Linked DNA regions of Homo sapiens: region 2 is linked to region 1. The links are contacts of gene promoters, found by promoter capture Hi-C in blood cells and fetal thymus (Javierre and others, 2016). All regions are on one chromosome and are shown on one strand. Each heading gives the region's core, a stretch centred on a gene start or on the middle of the fragment in contact. The rest is flanking DNA. Distances are from core to core; before and after follow the strand shown. Region 1 holds the start of PHLDA1 (pleckstrin homology like domain family A member 1). Region 2 overlaps OSBPL8 (oxysterol binding protein like 8).

Region 1 (3,788 bases), core at 1-2,500:
GCTGCCCCTTTCAGGCAGAGTTGGAGGTGCTGCGGAGAAGCCGGTGCCCGTGCGGCTGCGAGTGCGGCTGTGGGTGTGGGTGCGGTATTTGGTGCGGATGCGGGTGCGGGTGAGGGTGTGGGTGCGAGTGAGGATGAGAGTGTGGATGTGGATGTGGATGCGGATACGGGTGGAGCTGCTGGGGCTGAGGCTTGGGTTGGGGCTGAGGCTGGGGTTGTGATTGGGGCTGGGGTTGCGGCTGAGGCTGAGGCTGGGGTTGGGGCTGGAGCTGCGGCTGCGGCTGCGGCTGCGAGGGGGGCTGCTGCTGGACCAGGTGCTGCTGCTTCTGCCGCGTGGATTTGACCGCCAGGATGGCCTGACGATTCTTGTACTGCACCATCTGCAGCGTGATCTCGGCGTTCCAGCCCTGGTCTTGCGGGCACCGAAAGTCGATCTCCTTGCCCTCTGCCATCACCACAGTGAAGTACATGTACTTGCCCTTGCGCTCCACACAGTCCACGGTCTTCATGTTGGAGAAGTGCAGTTCCTTGAGCTTGACCGGCGGCTCGAGGCTGGCGACAGCGGGGCCACTGGGTTGGGACGGCTCGGCCGGCCCCTGCCCGGGCTGTTGTTGCTGCTGCTGCTGCTGCTGTTGCTGCTGCTGCTGCTGGTGTTGCAGCTGCTTGGGCGGGATAAGCAGCAGCCCTTCCTCGGTGAGGATGCAACACTTTTTCTTCCAGAGCTGCAACAACCCGTCGCTGCGCTTCTCCAGCACGCCCTCCTTCAGCGCTTTGCAGCCGCTACTCTCCAGCATCCTCCCAGCATAAGAGGGGCCGCCGCTTGGCTCGGCCTCTCCGTTTCCAGCCGCGCGGGCCGGGGGCAGCAGCAGCAGCCTCGCGCCGTCCTCGCCCCAGCGGCTCCCACGGCCGCCTGCCCGGAGCGCGCAGAGGAGGCTAACACGCAGGAGGCAGAGCGGCGGCGGCGGCTCTGGGTCCCGGCAGAGGGACAGCCGCGTCCTGATGCGCCACAAGGTCCCGGAGCTCCGAGCTGCCGGGCCTCTGCCGTCCTCTTGCGAGCGCTCACTGAAGGGCACTGGCCGGGCCCCCTCGCGGCGCTTTTGAATGGGCCATCTTCCCCACCCCCGAGTGACACCCAGCGGAAAAGGCGGCTCCTGGCGCCCGCACCGCGGGGGAAAGCCCAGCTCCAAGAGGCGCTCGGCAGCCGGCGCACGCCTCATTAACTTGGGGCCTTTCCAAAGCCCGCTGCGTCCACGCCCTCCAGCGTCTCTTGCTCCGCCTCTCGCCGCCCACTTGCTTCCGCGCTCGTTCCCCTGGAAGGCGACCCGGACCCGAGCCCCGGAAACTCCTCTCCTCTACCCAGGGCGATCGCCCAAGGAGCCCTGGCTGCCTGACTACTGCCGACGCTCACAGGGCGCTGCGAGGCCATCCCCCGCGTCCCGCTTCTCCCCGGCCCGCGGGACTCTCTGCTAACAGCCTCAGAAAGTGAGGACGGGGGCGCGGAGGCGGGGGCAGCCTCCAGGCAGTGCTGCCTCTCGGTTCTTGGGAATTAGCCCGGGGGATTCGCGCTGGGCTCCGAGAGCCCGCAGAACCAGCGTCGTGTCCTGGGCGAGCTGGGAGGCCGGGGCCGAGTCCCGCGAGTCCCGCGAGTGTGCCTCCCCCGGACGCCTAGGTAAACAACTGAGCGCACAGAGGCCGAGAGGACATCGTGTCTTCCCACGCATATTCGCTCACGGTCACTAAGTAGCTCTTCTTGGAAAGAGGGCGATTGTTAAAGCAATAGTGCGACTGTCGGGCTTGCCACGGGTGGAGAGAGGCGGACCCACGTCAGGTCGCATCTCGCCTGCTTTTCTCGACCCCGACCGCAGGCGCTAACCCGTCTTCGGCTTTCTTCTTGACCCGTACGGTTTGCAACGTCTCTTAAAACAGTAACTCAACTCTCTACAAACCGGGGTAATATCCGGTGCTGAGATCCCACACTGCAAGGCGCAGTTCCAAACGTCTGGTCGGCCTCGCAGGTCCCTCTTTCCAAGGCCTAGCCAGATCTTGGTTTTGGAATCTCATTTATCTGTGACCTGGGGAATGCAATACCCCCAGCTCCCTCCTACTCCTACATTTAAACAATGCCTATAGAAGCCGCTTCCTGGGAAGTAAGGCATAACCGAGACCTAGCCTCCCGGTAGGGAAGTTCATCCGTTTAGTAAACAGCCCCAACTACGTGCGGACCCTCACGGGGATACGAAGAATTCAACCAGGGCTGGACAAGTCAGAGTGGGCCAAGGTAAGAGTTACGGCTGCTACTGTGCCCACGTTGGAACAGATAGATTAGTTCATCTGCTAGTTGTGTGGCAAGAGCAAAGAATTCAAGAGGGGAAGAGAAAGTGAGAGGAGCTTAGAGAGCTAAGCAAGAATCGAATCCTTTGTGTGTCATGGTAAGAAATTCGAACTTAATACCAAGGTAGTCAGAACAAAGGACAACTTTTATACACGAGGGCGTCCTGAATATTCATCTAAGAAACAATGTCTGATCAAACGGGACAATCCAGCCAGCAATCCTGAGTCCCACCGGATTATGCTTGGCCAGCTTTCTAGCCTTCACATTGTTAATTTATTAGCAATCTTTTCAGGAGAAAGGCAATTATTAAAATTATGTGGACTTCTAGTAAAATTATCTCGAAGATTTACAATTATGTATACCAATAACAAAAAAACTACATGTTTTCTGCTCCCCTGCCTTTGTAGGACAAGTGAGCATTCCAGAGAATTTCTACATGACCAGCTGTTCATTCTTTTAAGAGGATGACATTCTTCAGCTCATCTGGAAAGGATACTTCCTTTAAGTCTGTTATTCACAGTCTCCAAGGGCAGGTGTAGTTGGGAAAGACATTTCATATGGAAAAACAAACTTGATAGGGTAAAAAAAAAAAAAATGAGATGTAATCTGGAGGCCCAAGTCATTTTCTTAGGAGAAACTCAAATGTGTTTGGTGTTATCTAACCTTCTGCAGTTTATCAGTCTGAAACAAATGCATTCTATTCTCATTTGAAAATGTCTGAACAGCCACCAATTTTCAAAATCACCCATTTAACTAGAGACTTTAAAGCCCAGAATTTGCAGTTACGTATTTCAGAATGATTTAGTAATTTTGTGAGCAGCTCAGAGGTTAAGTCTACAATGTCTGACTACGGTGCATTATTGAAAATATCAGTAGTGTAAGGATCCCGTAGATTGGTGATAACTTTGCTCTTGTTATTTCAACAGTTACCACCAACAGTTGGTGACTTAACAAATTAAGAGCATAGTTGCCATATGCTCATATTTGGCAAATATGTCAAAATGGCCATATTTGCCAATTTTTAAGACAATAAATTCACAGAAAATGCATTACAGAAAATAACTTAAAAAAAAAAAAAACAACTTTTGGGCCAGGCATGGTGGTTCACACCTGTAATACCAACACTCTAGGAGGCTGAGGTGAGAGGATCCCTTGAGCCCAGGAGTTTGAAACCAACCTGGGCTACATGGCAAGGCCTCCCTCTACAAATGTAAAAAAAAAATTAGCCAGGTGTGGTGGCATGCGCCATGTAGCCCCAGCTACTTGGGAGGCTGAGGTGGAGGACTGTTTGAGCCCAGAAGTTCAAGGTTGCAGGAGCTAGGATCGCACCACTATACAAGCCTGGGTGGCAGCAAGACCCTGTTTAAAAAAAAAAAAAAATTCAGCTGTATATGCAATGAAAACCTACAAGTCACTGAAAAGTTACTGAAGTTTAGAAAACTAGCCAACAAAATCAT
Region 2 (3,788 bases), core at 672-3,171, 520 kb after region 1:
ATGGGCCCCAGCCTTCCTTGTAAAAAATTATGTAATCTGACAAACTATTCCTGCTAATATGTAGGCATTTGGCAGCCAAAAAGCAAAAATTACCTTACTGGTGGTCATCTCAACAGGACAGATTTCAACTGTACAGATCTGTGTCCCTCAAATATCACTAAATAGGCCTGGCATGGCAGCTCACATCTATAATCCCAGCACTTTGGGAGACCAAGGTGGGAGAATCATTTGAGGCTAGGGGTTCAAGACCAAGCTGGGCAACATAGTGAGACTCTGTTTCTAAAAAAAAAAAAAAAAACTTAAAAATTAGCCAGGTGTGATGGTATTCGCCTGTAGTCCCAGCTACTTGGGAGGCAGAGACAGGAGGATCACTTGAGCCTGGGAGGTCGAGGCTGCAGTGAGCCATGGTAGTGAGTGCCACTGCACTCCAGCCTAGGTGACAGCTCAAGACCCTGTATCAGAAGAAAAAAAAAAAAGGCCAGAGGAGGTAGCTCACGCCTGTAATCTCAACACTTTGGGAGGACGAGGCAGGTGGATCACTTTACGTCAGGAGTTCGAGAACAGCCTGGCCAATATGGTGAAACCCCATCTCTACTAAAAATACAAAAAATTAGCTGGGCATGGTGGCATGCACCCGTAATCCCAGCTACTCAGGAGGCTCAGGCATGAGAATCACTTGAAACCGGGAGGCAGAGGTTGCAGTGAGCCAAGATCACACTACTGCACTCCAGCCTAGGTGACACAGTGAGACTCTATCTCAAAAAAAAAAAAAAAAAAACACTAAAAAAAAATGCATACCAATTCTGTGAATCAGCCTTATTCTTTAAAACTATTTTTTAATTATAACAACTTAGCTTTAAATACTGTTATCTATTATGTTCTTTAATTTCCAGTTACTCCGAAATTCTCTGAAATTCCCCAGTGAGAAAATGGCAACTGGATGAACAATAAAATAAATATTTGCTTTACTCTAAGTATTTTTAAGATTTAAAAATAGGATGTCAGTCAAATACAAGTAAAATGAGAGAAAAAAAATCAAGGCTATATTCCATCTTCTTATAAAGTAAAGTGCATTTTGTAAATGACACAACTAAAACAGACTCAGGAAGATCACAAGGTCAAGACGTATCAAGAGGAGCAACTGCAAATAAATTATACAAGGCAGTATATAATATGATGGTTAAAAGGATAGGCTCCAAAGTCAAAGGTCAGGTTAAACCTCAAGTTTAAATCCTTTTAGTAGGCTCTACCACCTACTACTTAACTTCTCTGTGCCTCAGGTTTAGTTCAAATCCTGGCTCCACCACTTATTTAATCTGTCAGTTGCTCAGGTTTAAAAAAAAGAAAATAGCCTGATTGCGGGGTGGTTGTCAGGATCAAATGTGATGACATGTCAAGTACTTCTAGAGTAGTACAGTACCTGGTATATAGCAGTTGACGCACATTAGCTATTAATATGACCTATAACAATTTCCCTCTGAATCTATCAAGTTTTCAAAAACTCTAAATCAAAAAGCTTCTCCTTTTTATTTGAAAAAAGTCAAGCTCTGAAACCATTTCCTCTTTTTTTCAGTCCTTTTTGAATATGGAAATTAGTAGGTAACTGGCTTATCATTTGATGACTCTTCTTAGTCTTTGTATAATAAAAAGGCTCAAGACTCTTCTTAGTCTTTTTATAATAAAATTCTCTTCCAAATATTATACAAAGGACAGACTGCTCCATGGATCAAAAACACTACAAAGAGTTCACAAAGTATAATGAAATTCTGAGATTCATAAATGAACAGCTACTGGCACAAAAAGCTTAGATAAGAAATAATGCAGATGTCTGTTTGTTTGCTCAAGAAATACTGAATTTTATAATAAAACACAGATGGTAGAGATCTTCATGGCTTATAGTCACATCACTAAAAACAGAAAATATTTTTGGTAAATTTTTTCTTAACAACCAGAAAACCCCTTATTTCATCACAACAATGAATAGATAAATGACATTACAGGCAAAGACAATTTCTTCAAAAACAAATTACGTAGAGAAAAAAAGCTTAAAGGCTCAGATTTTCAGCTACACATATCCCTTACTTTGAGCTTCAAAAATTTGAGGCTTCTAGCACTCCTTGTGGTCTGTAACATTAAGCAGTAATACAATTAGGCCTCATTTCTACCAGAAAACATTAAACTGACTGAAAGAAAATTATCTAGAATTTTGATTCTGATCAATTTAAACATAATGCCATGAGTCATCTAGATGAGTCAAGCAAATATTAGAGTTCATGATAAACGAATCAAAATATGTTTTAAAGATCTGCAGACAAACGTTTTAATAATTTTGTATTTGCTGAAGTCCTCCTATGTGTGACACATTGAGGTAGGCACATTCATATTGAGGTATGCACTTTCACATGCATTATATAACTTTGTTCTCCCAACGATCATGGATTATTATCCTGATTTTACAAATGAGAAAACTAAGACCAAGTGATTGGCCGATGGAAACGACGCTTGTATAAGATTCAGTCAGAACACCAATTCAAATTTTCTGACCCTTATCGTACTTCCAAAACTCAAGTACTGTCAATCTCTGCTGTTGCAAAGCAAGTTAATCTTTTTATTTAGGGAGAGGTGAAAATAGAGATGGGAGAATAAAAATTCTTCATAATGTTACAAAAAAAGACTTACTGTGCTTTATCTGACATAATTTATTCAGTCTGACTTAAATGCTTTGCTGCACGTTGTCTACCCCCTTAGACACTGCTTATCTTCAGACACACAGCCCACACCAAAACCTAACTCAAGAATCACCTCCTCCAAGAAAGTTTCCCAGATTAAATGACCTGTTCCCCTTCTCCCAAGCTAACATCCTTCCTTTATCATTTCGCTGCTTGCATTTAGTTTGGACTACATTATCAGATACTCCTTTTGTTCTCCAGTCATATATCTGGAAGTAGACTTTTTTCATTCATTAACTATTGAACATTTGGAGATTCAATGGTGAGCAAAACAGACAAGGTCCTTGCTATCATGGAGAATTTACATTATCTGGATCTTCGACAAAGGTAAAAATAACAGGGTATAAGAATATGATGCTCTAGGACTAGGATTTCTTCCCTATAAGGTCTCCGAAAATAGCTCTCTCCCTTGCAAGCTTGATAACACTTTTCAGGAAGAAAAATTCCTTCTATCACGCCTTCCACATGAGAATTTTATGACTTTGTGAGGATATGTGAGGGATGGGGACCAAGGTGGGAAGAAAGATCTAAAATCTCTCAGGGGTTTCCCACATACTGCCATGAAATATGCACACAACATGAGTCTAGACATCTCTTCCTGTGTCTCATCACAAGGAAGCTATACTTTGGCCACAACTGCTCCAGTCAAGCACTTCTACTAATCTCCTTGTACCCAGCCACCTTCACTAAAAATTGTATATTTCTCAGAGGCTTTTTGTTTTTTTGGTGTTTTTTGAGACTGAGTCTTGCTCTATCGCCCAGGCTGGAGTGCAATGGCATGATCTTGGCTCGTTGCAATCTCTGTCTCCTGGGTTCATGCGATTCTCCTGCCTCAGCCTCCCAAGTAGCTGGGATTACAGGCACACACTGCCACGCCCAGCTAATTTTTTTGTATTTTTAGTAGAGACGGGGTTTCACCATGTTGGCCAGGCGGGTCTTGAACTTCTGACCTCATGATCTGCCCACCTCAGCCTCCCAAAGTGCTAGCATTACAGGCGTGAGCCACCGGGCCTGGCCTCTCAAAGGCTTTTTTATTCAAGTTGTGTTTCTGTCTTATTT

What was found. The method cuts DNA at HindIII sites, captures the fragments that hold promoters and counts their contacts. A CHiCAGO score of 5 or more calls a contact.
Region 2: a fragment that was not itself captured here is called in contact with the fragment with the promoter of PHLDA1 in region 1 in 1 of 17 cell types (total CD8 T cells); the score reaches 6.1 in total CD8 T cells.

The regions. Positions count from the first base shown.
Region 1 is chr12:76,030,526-76,034,313 of GRCh38, forward strand. It overlaps PHLDA1 (pleckstrin homology like domain family A member 1), which reads right to left and starts at 1,251. Exons shown (of 2, transcript NM_007350.3): 1 at 1-1,251. The coding sequence starts at 1,216. The coding sequence ends at 11. It overlaps PHLDA1-AS1 (PHLDA1 antisense RNA 1), which reads left to right. Exons shown (of 2, transcript NR_186034.1): 1 at 1-69; 2 at 386-853. PHLDA1-DT (PHLDA1 divergent transcript) reads left to right here and starts at 1,288. Exons shown (of 2, transcript NR_185978.1): 1 at 1,288-2,277; 2 at 2,739-3,788. RefSeq lists a silencer at 787-936 and an enhancer at 1,157-1,406. The HindIII fragment of the contact is 8,299 bases long and covers 1-3,788 here.
Region 2 is chr12:76,553,218-76,557,005 of GRCh38, forward strand. The region is part of intron 1 of OSBPL8 (oxysterol binding protein like 8); the gene reads right to left. Among named protein-coding and RNA genes, the nearest start is that of OSBPL8, 4.7 kb to the right of the region's middle. The HindIII fragment of the contact is 241 bases long and covers 1,802-2,042 here.